Linked DNA regions of Homo sapiens: regions 1 and 2 are each linked to region 3. The links are contacts of gene promoters, found by promoter capture Hi-C in blood cells and fetal thymus (Javierre and others, 2016). All regions are on one chromosome and are shown on one strand. The core of a region is centred on a gene start or on the middle of the fragment in contact, and the rest is flanking DNA. Distances in the headings are between cores, read along the strand shown. Region 1 overlaps HYCC2 (hyccin PI4KA lipid kinase complex subunit 2). Region 2 overlaps HYCC2 (hyccin PI4KA lipid kinase complex subunit 2). Region 3 holds the start of CFLAR-AS1 (CFLAR antisense RNA 1).

Region 1 (3,423 bases), core at 277-2,776, 120 kb after region 3:
AGGCACTGTAGCGTATGCTGTAATCTCAGCTATTCAGGAGGCTGAGGTGGGAGGATTGTTTGAGCCCAGGAGTTCAAGACCAGCTGGGGCAAGATAGCGAGACCCCATCTCAAAAAATAAAAGATAGCTTGCAGTCTATTTGTAGCTGTGCTCTGTAGATATCTCTATGTACTAAGAGTGCTGTGCCTGGTTAGAAAATACATGTTTGGCCAGGCGCGGTGGCTCACACCTGTAATCCCAGCACTTTGGGAGGCTGAGGCGGGTGGATCACGAGGTCAGGAGATCGAGACCATCCTGGCTAGCACAGTGAATCCCTGTCTCTACTAAAAATACAAAAAATTAGCCAGGCATGGTGGCAGGCGCCTGTAGTCCCAGGTACTCGGGAGGCTGAGGCAGGAGAATGGCGTGAACCTGGGAGACGGAGCTTGCAGTGAGCTGAGATCACGCCACTGCACTCTAGCCTAGGCAACAGAGTGAGACTCTGTCTCAAAAAAAAAAAAAAGAAAAAAAGAAAATATATGTTTACAGAATTTCTCTGTAACCAGTACTATTCTATTTTTCTTTCTTTTTTTTTTTTTTTTTAGTATTTATTGATCATTCTTGGGTGTTTCTCGGAGAGGAGGATTTGGCAGGGTCATAGGACAATAGTGGAGGGAAGGTCAGCAGATAAACATGTGAACAAAGGTCTCTGGTTTTCCTAGGCAGAGGGCCCTGCCACCTTCCGCAGTGTTTGTGTCCCTGGGTAGTTGAGATTAGGGAGTGGTGATGACTCTTAAGGAGTATTCTGCCTTCAAGCATCTGTTTAACAAAGCACAACTTGCACCGCCCTTAATCCATTTAACCCTTAGTGGACACAGCTCATGTTTCAGAGAGCACGGGGTTGGGGGTAAGGTTATAGATTAACAGCATCCCAAGGCAGAAGAATTTTTCCTAGTACAGAACGAAATGGAGTCTCCTATGTCTACTTCTTTCTACACAGACACAATAACAGTCTGATCTCTCTTTTCCCCACATTTCCCCCTTTTCTATTCCACAAAACCGCCATTGTCATCATGGCCCATTCTCAATGAGCTGTTGGGTACACCTCCCAGACGGGGTGGCGGCCGGGCAGAGGGGCTCCTCACTTCCCAGACGGGGCGGCCGGGCAGAGGGGCCCCCCCACCTCCCAGACGGGGTGGCGGCCGGGCAGAGGGGCTCCCCACTTCCCAGACTGGGTGGCTGGGCAGAGGCGCCCCCCACCTCCCAGACGGGGCGGCGGGCGGGGGCTGCCCCCCACCTCCCGGACGGGGCGGCTGGCCGGGCGGGGGCTGCCCCCCAGCTCCCGGACTGGGCGGCTGCCGGGCGGAGACGCTCCTCACTTCCCGGATGGGGCGGCTGCCAGGCGGAGGGGCTCCCCCAGACGGGGCGGCTGCTGGGCGGATGGGCTCCTCACTTCTCAGACGGGGCGGCTGGTCAGAGACGCTCCTCACCTCCCAGACGGGGTGGCGGCGGGGCAGAGACACTCCTCAGTTCCCAGACGGGGTCGCGGCGGGGCAGAGGCACTCTTCACATCTCAGACGGGGCGGTGGGGCAGAGGTGCTCCCCACATCCCAGATGATGGGCGGCCGGGCAGAGACGCTCCTCACTTCCTAGATGGGGTGGCGGCCGGGCAGAGGCTGCAATCTCAGCACTTTGGGAGGCCAAGGCAGGCGGCTGGGAGGTGTAGGTTGTAGCGATCCGAGATCACGCCACTGCACTCCAGCCTGGGCAACATTGAGCATTGAGTGAGCGAGACTCCGTCTGCAATCCCGGCACCTCGGGAGGCCGAGGCTGGCAGACCACTCGCGGTCAGGAGCTGGAGACCAGCCCGGCCAACACGGCGAAACCCTGTCTCCACCAAAAAATACGAAAACCAGTCAGGTGTGGCGGCATGTGCCTGCAATCCCAGGCACTTGGCAGTCTGAGGCAGGAGAATCAGGCAGGGAGGCTGCAGTGAGCCGAGATGGCGGCAGTACAGTCCAGCCTCGGCTCGGCATCAGAGGGAGACTGTGCAAAGGGGAGAGGAGGACCGTGCAAAGGGGAGGGGGAGGGGGAGAGAGACTATTCTATTTTTCAAATGAAGGTACTAAAATATATTTTTAGGATTTTAGAGTTGGAAAATAACTAATCATTGTAGGAAACTGAAGCCCAAAGGGTTTAAATGAGTTGTCTGAGGACATATAAACAGTATGGTTCATTGACTATATATATGTTTTTTAAGTACCCGTCTTACATCCAGAAATCATAGTATCTTTGTTAGCTTTGAATGCATAGTAGTGAGCAATGCAAAAATGTACCCTGTTCTCTTGGAATTTACAATCCAGTGGGGAGATGGACAATTAGTAAGTAATGAGGTCTGATAAAGAAGTTACAAACCCCGAAGTTCTAGGCAGGAAATAAATCTTGTGTTGGAATGGAAAATACTGGGGAATGGAAGAAGAGCTGCTATTTACATAAAGTGGTTCAGAAAGGCTGCTGAGACTTACAAGATCAGAAGGAGCCAGCCACTTAAGTAGCAGGAGCAGGACAGCATTCTAGGCTGGAACAGCCTGCACAGATGTGCTGGAGTTAAGGTGCACGTAAAGCTGTAGAGAAACTCAAAGGAGAGTATGGCCAGAACATAGAAAGCTGTGGGGAGAGTAGTATGAACCATAAGACAGGGACCAGATTGCATAGTGCCTTTTTCAATCATAGATTTCAAAATTATGGCATTAGATTCAAATCTGAGTTCTGCCACTTAAACTGTGTTACCTTGTATAGGTCACACACCCATTTACACTTTAATTTTCTTATCTATTAGATGAGAATAACAAGCTACTTCATAGGACATAGTATCATGGAGATTATATAATGCTTATAGCAAACACTTATGTAATGTTTATCTTGTGATAAGAACTGTTCTAAGTATACAAAAACTATATGAAGTAGGTACCGCTATTCCCAGTTTTGAAATGAGGGACAGCGGGTTTGAGTATAGCTAGTAAGAGGGTACAAGGGTTTAAACATAGCTAGTAAGTGACCTTAACCTTAGGCAACCTTGCTCCAGGGTTTGTGATCAAAATGTGATCCTCAGGATCCTTTAAGGGGGTCCATAAGGTCAAAACTATTTTTCATATTAATATAAAGACAGTATTTGCCATCTTCACTGTCATTCTGTCATAAATATACAGTGAGGTTTTTCTGCAACAGATTGAATGCAGAAGCAATTATGAGGCTGGGCACAGTGGCTCACGCCTGTAATCACAGCGTTTTGGGAGGCTGAGGCAGGTGGATCACTTGAGGTCAGGAGTCCGAGACCAGCCTGGCCAACATGGTGAAACCCCATCTGTACTAAAAATAAAAAAATTAGCCGGATATGGTGGTGCATGCCTGTGATCCCAGCTACTCGGAGGCTGAGGCAGAATT
Region 2 (3,312 bases), core at 426-2,925, 92 kb after region 3:
TTAAGAGGTGTGACTTTGATTATTTATAGAATTATAGTACTTTCTAGGTTTGAAATATAACTGCCAAAAAAGTGGTCATAAAATATGGTAAGTGGCATCAATTTATTGAATGGCAAAGCATGGTTTACAGAATATCTGTTTTGTCCTATTTTGACACATGAAACTTCAAACAGTGTTAGAATCAAATTTATCCATCACCTTTGTCATTTTGAATACTTAACTGTTGATAGTGCTTGATTCTTTTTTTTTTTCTGGTGAGAAGATACTAATATATATACTTAGAATTAGCCAGCCGAACTCAGTTTAGATGATCCCAATTTTGTTGACAACCTCCAAAGCATCATAATCAGGAGCCAGTCAAACATAAGCCTTCTTCTCTTCATCAGGTCTGATCAGGGTCTTGATCTTGGCTCATCAATGTTATGGAGCTTCTTTGTAGCCTATTTGACCTGGTGCTTGTTGGCTTTAACATCCACAATGAACACAAATATGTTGTCTTCTATCTTCTTCATGGTGAACTCTGGTCAGCAGGAACTTGATGATGGTATAGTGGTCAAGCTTCTTTCTCCTTGTATCCTGCTATCTTACAAGGATATTTGGGCTGCCTATGGGGCTGCAGTGCCTTGGGCCACCGGGACGTGGGTGACTTGCGGATCTTCTTTTTTTGTGTATGTGTTTGATGCCACTTACCATATTTTATGACTACTTTCAGCCTTTCAGCACTGCTTTCTTGGCCTTCAAAGCCTTTGCTTTGGCTTCTGCTTTAAGATGGGTAGGAGCTTCCTTTTTCGCCTTCGGCACTATCTTGTGAAAACAGTCTCCCTGATTCTTAATTAATATAGACTTGTTAGCTACTAAGACTTGCCAATTAACCTCCTTAAATTCCTTTCCATATTATATATAAAATGGATGAGAGAGGCAAGTTAGATACTGAGCAGGTACTGAAAGTTATAATTTTTCCATATTCTTTTGTATTGGGGCTTTTTAATCTGTGTATTCGTTCTTTATTTATTTATTAGTTTATACTTTTTAAATGAAAAAAGGTGTGGGGATGGGAGAGAGTATACTACTGTCCTTTCTACATTATAGGGTGACTGTAAGACTCAAATAGAAAACATAGTGGCTGGGCACAGTGGCTCACGCCTGTAATCCCAGCATCTCGGGAGGCCGAGGTGAGCAGATCACTTGAGGTCAGGATTTCGAGACCAGCCTGGCCAACATGGTGAAACCCTGTCTCTACTAAAAATACAAAAGTTAGCTGGGCACGGTGGTGCACACCTGTAGTGCTAGCTACTGGAATGGCTGAGGCAGGAAAATTGCTTGAACCTAGGAAGTGGAGGTTGCAGTGAGCCAAGATTGTGTGCACTCCAGCCTGGGCGATGAAGTGAGACTCTGTCTCCAAAGAAAAAAAAAAAAGAAAAGAAAACATGAAGGGCTTTTATAAAATCTAAAGTTAATTTGAATTTGCAGTATTTTACAGTATCTGCTATTTATGGAAAATACTAGGGGAAATGAATATAAAACTTAAGACTCAAATGTTTCTGTTCCTTAAGGTTCTGAATCTTCTCTCATTTTATGCTTTGTTACTCTGTGATTTTTTTATTTAATTAGCATCCAAATATGATGGTTCTCAATCTGTGTCTCTAATCCAGAGCTTTCCCTTTAACTTTAGTTCCTATTCTATACATGTAATTGCCTGCTAGATGAAGATGAGCTACAGGTCCTTCAACTATAATATGTTTAAAAGTGAATTCATGTTTTCCCTTTTGTCATCTTTCTAACCTGCTGGAGCTGGAACCCTGATGTTATCTATCTTTAACCCTTACGCTTCATCTGAGCAATGCTAGGTTCTGTTGACTTTACCTTCTTACTCTTTCTTTGATTCCATTTACTTCTCTCAATTTCTGTAGCTGCTAGAAATATTATGAAGAATTAGGGCCTAGAGGCAACTATCTAGATTAGAATCCTAGCTCCGCTATTTACATCTCAGTGTCCTTATCTTTAGAAATAGAGTTATACAAGCCAACAATTGCAGTCTTGGGCATTTGTTCCAGAGAAACTGAAACTTACATTCATATAAAAACCTGTGTGAATTCTCATAGCATCTTTATTCCTAATAGCCAAAAACTGGAAACCTAAATGTTCTTCAACAGGTTAAATAGACTATAGTGCATCTATATCATGGACTGCTATGCAGCAATAAAAAGGAATGGACTGTTAATAAAATGTAACAACTTGAATGGGTCTCAAGTGAAAAAAATCTCAAAATTGCATATTCCATGATTCCATTTATATAACATTCTTGAAATACTAAAAATAAAGAGATAGAGAACAGATTCGTGGTTGCCATGGTTTAGGTATCAAGGAGAGGGGAGTGGGTGGGACTACAAGAGTGTCTTGGTGACAGAACAGTTCTGTATCTTGATTGTGATGGTAATTACATGAGTCTACCTATGTGATAAAATTGCATAGAGCTATACACACACGTATACATGAGTGCTTGTAAAACTGGTTAGATCTGAGTAAACTTTGTAGACTGTAGCAATGTCAATTTCCTGGTCTTGATATTTTACTGTAGTTATTCAAGGTGTTCCCATTGAGGGAAAATGGGCAAAGGGTACATGAGACCTGTTGGCAGTTTTTTTTGCAACTTCCTGTGAGTCTATAATTTCAAAATTAAAAGTTTTTAAGAAGAATTGTTAGGATTAAATGAGCAGATACACAGAAGATTTTTTTCCAGAGAATTAAATCGTTTATTGATTACACATGATAATGGATGATACACAAGCTTCATTCCCATCTATAATTTTATCTGGTACCATTATTCAATTTAGATATATTGCATAGGATGTGCCAACAATCACTTTTATAACCAATAATTCCATGATTTTGCTTGGGTAATCCCTTTTAATGGTGAACTTCAGGTCACAACAGTAACTATCAGTTCAACTACACCAAGGTTTCCGAAGACAATAGCTTCTCCACCCAAGCAGGTTGTATATAAATTCCAAATAGAACCTGGCATCACCCTGAAGGAATTCTAACTTCACACTGTTGGGGAAATTTACCAAGATGGCTTCAGAGTAGACTAACTTTACACAGCACATTAAAAAAAAAGACATTTATTCAGCGTCACGATCAGACTATTACATTTAGCAATCAACAGCATGGGTGCAAAAAAAAAAATCTACATTAAAACCCTTTGTTGGAATGCTTTACACTTTCCACAGAACAGAAACTAAAATAACCTGTTATACAATTAGTCACAAATACAGTCCTCGAGTTTTTTGCCCATACACATGAGTATTTGTC
Region 3 (3,364 bases), core at 288-2,787:
CAAAAAAAAAAATTAATTATTATATCATGTAAGAATGAAGAGCTACAAAGGAGGTGCTGATATTCCTAAGTCTATAATCAATAAGCATCATTAACAAGGAAATAGGAGACATGATTCACAGGTTGCAAATAACCCATTAAATAGTGAGGGCAACCAGCCCCAGTGGCTCACATCTGTAATCCTAGCACTTTGGGAGGCCGAGACGGGCAGATCACCTGAGGTCAGGAGTTCGAGACCAGTCTGGCCAATATGGTGAAACCCCGTCTCTACTAAAAATACAAAAATTAGCCAGGCGTGGTGGTGCTCACCTGTAATCCCAGCTACTAGGGAGGCTGAGACAGGAGAATTGCTTGAACCCGGGAGGCAGAGGTTGCAGTGAGCCAAGATTGCGCCACTGCACTCCAGCCTGGGCAACAGAGCAGAACTCCGTCTCAAATTCAAATAATAATAATAATAATAATAATAATAATAATAATGATGAGGGCAAATGCCGTTACAGGATCTCTGGGTAGCTGTTATCAGGACTGTAATTTTGCACAGCCTTTTTGAAGAGCAATTTGGGAGTATCATTAAATTTTAAATGTGTATACCCTTTATAAAAAAAAGAAAACTCTGTGTGGTAGAAGAGGCCTGGACGCACTGTCCCCTAGCCATCTCCTCTGAGGGTGCAGGCTTGTTTCGATACCCAGTGCTGAATCCAGGCTGAACAAGGAGAGAACCTGGACTAGGACTCCAGTTCCATCACTGCTATTCTATTCCAAAGGACTCACACGTCTCTAATCATGGAGTATTTGCTCCTCCAGGGGGCAGAAGCAAACAGGGAAACACCAGACTCAAAGCTCTTTTGTGTACTTATCTCAAGATTGGTTCACTTCCCTCAAAACCTCTCTTCACTGATAAATGTCCTTCCTTATCAAACAAAGTCCTTGAAAGAAAACTTCACCACATTCTCCCTGCCCATGCTGATATGTAAGGCTTGGACAGAACAAATGCTGTACTGTGCCTTCCAGCTCTTTCCTTTATTTGTGCTCCCTGGAGGTTCTGGCTGGGGAAGCCCCTGTCACATGACTGTGAGCAGACAGCTGTGTGGTGCAGGGCAAAAGAGGAACCAGCCTTGGAATCACAAGATGTGGGTTTAAGTCCTAGTTCCTCCATCTCCTCCTACTAGGGTCTGAATCTTGCATGGTCTTGGAAGAGACTGAGCTATAACAGCAGAGAAGCTAGGAAGGAAATGGGAATCTGAGGTCTGGGGCAGAAAATCCTTACCTAAAAGAACAGAAGAAAAATGGCTAAAGCTGGAGGTGAAGCCAAAAACCATGCAGGTCCCAAGTGCCAATAAGAATAGCAGGTCTGAGCCTCAGACAAGACACAGCATTGCTTAAATATCCTGTGGCAAGGGAGTCACTCCACAGGCCCAGCCTGAAGACATTACCGCTGACATTTCCCATTAACGTCACAATTTTCCTCTATGAGGTGGTGAGGTGGAGTGGGAAGGGCTGTTAGCTGGCACTTGCAACTTTATTGCGCCAGCAAGAACATGCATACAGCCCAGTCTAACGTACAGGATCAAAAAGGTAATGACAGTGTGACTTTGAGTCAGTTTGAGTCAGCCCCAGTTTATTCATCTATAAAACAAGATTAAAACTAATGCTTGGCCAGGTGCAGTGGCTCACACCTACAATCCCAGCACTTTGGGAGGCTGAGGTGGGAGGATGGCTTGAGCTCAGGAGTTTGAGACCACCCTGGGCATCACAGGGAACCCCGTCTCTACAAAAAATAAAAAAACTAGCCAGGCATGGTAGTACAAGCCTGTAGTCATCACAGCTACTCAGGAGGCTGAGGCAGGAGGATCTCTTGAGCAGGAGGTTCTTCAAAAGGTGACTGTGAGGGCAGGGTACAGTGGCTCATACCTGTAATCCCAGCACTTTGGGAGGCCAAGGCGGGTGGATTGCTTGAGCTGCAGAGTTTGAGACCAGCCTGGGCAACATGGCGAAACCCCATCTCTACCAAAAATACAAAAATTGGCTGGGCATGGTGGCACGCATCTGTGGTCCCAGCTACTTGGGAGGCTAAGGAAGGAGGATCACTCGAGCCCAGGAAGTGGAGGAGCCAAGATCGCTCCACTGCACTCCAGCCTGGGTGAAAGAGTGAGACTCTGTCTCAGAAAAAAGGTGACCGTGAGGATCCAATGAGATTTCTGTAAAGATGCTTTGCAAACTGTGTTTATTCAAATATAAGATATTGACTTTAAAGGAAATAAAGGCAGCCATTTCAAAGTACAAATCACCAACCTTATGGTGTTGCACATCTCTCATGGAATCTCTCTCTTAGGACCTGGAGGGAGGTCTCTATATTCTAAACTAAAATGGGCTCAGAGCAGACAGAGTCCATATCCTATGTAGGTAGGACAGTAACTGTTTTGTCCTTGCACATAAATAGAGGAAGAAAAACTTGGGGGCTGGGTTTGGAAAATAAAATTTCAACAAACTACAGAAGACCCACTTCTCCTTCTAGAACCCACCCTGGAAATCCCACACTCAACCCAGTCTGATCTCCGTAAATTTCAACTGTTCTTTAGAACTTCTGGAAATGATGTGGGGGGGTGGGGAGGGGAAGGGCAGGGGTTCTTCTGGCCTTGCAGTTAGTACAGGGCTGTTCATTCAAGGCTAGGGTCAGCACTACTCACAGGTTTGAGGACTTCACAGATAAACCAAAAAAACCAAAATACAGTAAAATGTCATGACTTCATTAATTTAGAATTTGTTTTGATCTAAATGAGGATACATTTATCTTGACAATTTCTATGAAAAGGGCTTCATTAAATAAATGTATAAAATAAACAAGAATGAGGGAATGCTTCACCAGTTAATTTACAATCACATATTGAGTACCTTTAATAAGCCCAGTGTTAACTGCTATAGAGCACATGGGTAAAACATAAGATGGGCAAAACATTCTTAGTGAAAAAGGGAGTTCTGAGGTCAAACGTGTTTGGGAAATGCAAGGTGGACAAGGCTAAAATAGGTTTCTTCGCAGGAAGAATTCTCAGAGCCTTTAATAGGTCAATATGCATTGCAAATCTCTGAGGGGGAAGAGATTAGGCAGCGCTTCTCAAATTTACTTGACCGGAAAACTCTTGTTTTACAAAGTTCCCCTTATTGCCTACAGAAACACTTGGACAAGAGAATACATATCAAATATATGATGTACTTCAATCAAAGAGCTTATAATCTTGTTGGGGAAGCAAAGCTTATAAATACGCATAAAACAAAGATTACGTGGTGGCTCATGGCCATAATCCCAGTGCTTTGGGAGGCCAAGGCAGGAAGATCACTTGAAGCCAGGAGTTCAAGACCGCCCTGGG

Evidence for each region. The method cuts DNA at HindIII sites, captures the fragments that hold promoters and counts their contacts. A CHiCAGO score of 5 or more calls a contact.
Region 1: a contact is called between a fragment that was not itself captured here and the fragment with the promoter of CFLAR-AS1 in region 3, in 8 of 17 cell types (neutrophils, erythroblasts, activated CD4 T cells and 5 more). The highest score is 18.0, in neutrophils.
Region 2: a contact is called between a fragment that was not itself captured here and the fragment with the promoter of CFLAR-AS1 in region 3, in 12 of 17 cell types (neutrophils, erythroblasts, megakaryocytes and 9 more). The highest score is 17.3, in neutrophils.

Annotation. Positions count from the first base shown.
Region 1 is chr2:201,040,592-201,044,014 of GRCh38, reverse strand. The region is part of intron 2 of HYCC2 (hyccin PI4KA lipid kinase complex subunit 2); the gene reads left to right. Among named protein-coding and RNA genes, the nearest start is that of HYCC2, 29 kb to the left of the region's middle. RefSeq lists enhancers at 323-835, 836-1,347. The HindIII fragment of the contact is 7,101 bases long and covers 1-3,423 here.
Region 2 is chr2:201,064,183-201,067,494 of GRCh38, reverse strand. The region is part of intron 1 of HYCC2 (hyccin PI4KA lipid kinase complex subunit 2); the gene reads left to right. It also overlaps the pseudogene HNRNPA1P35 and the pseudogene RPL23AP30. Among named protein-coding and RNA genes, the nearest start is that of HYCC2, 5.8 kb to the left of the region's middle. The HindIII fragment of the contact is 2,230 bases long and covers 561-2,790 here.
Region 3 is chr2:201,155,965-201,159,328 of GRCh38, reverse strand. It overlaps CFLAR-AS1 (CFLAR antisense RNA 1), which reads left to right and starts at 1,537. Exons shown (of 7, transcript NR_040030.1): 1 at 1,537-1,574. All of the region lies in intron 8 of CFLAR (CASP8 and FADD like apoptosis regulator), which reads right to left. RefSeq lists enhancers at 809-1,138, 1,159-1,238. The HindIII fragment of the contact is 4,248 bases long and covers 1-3,251 here.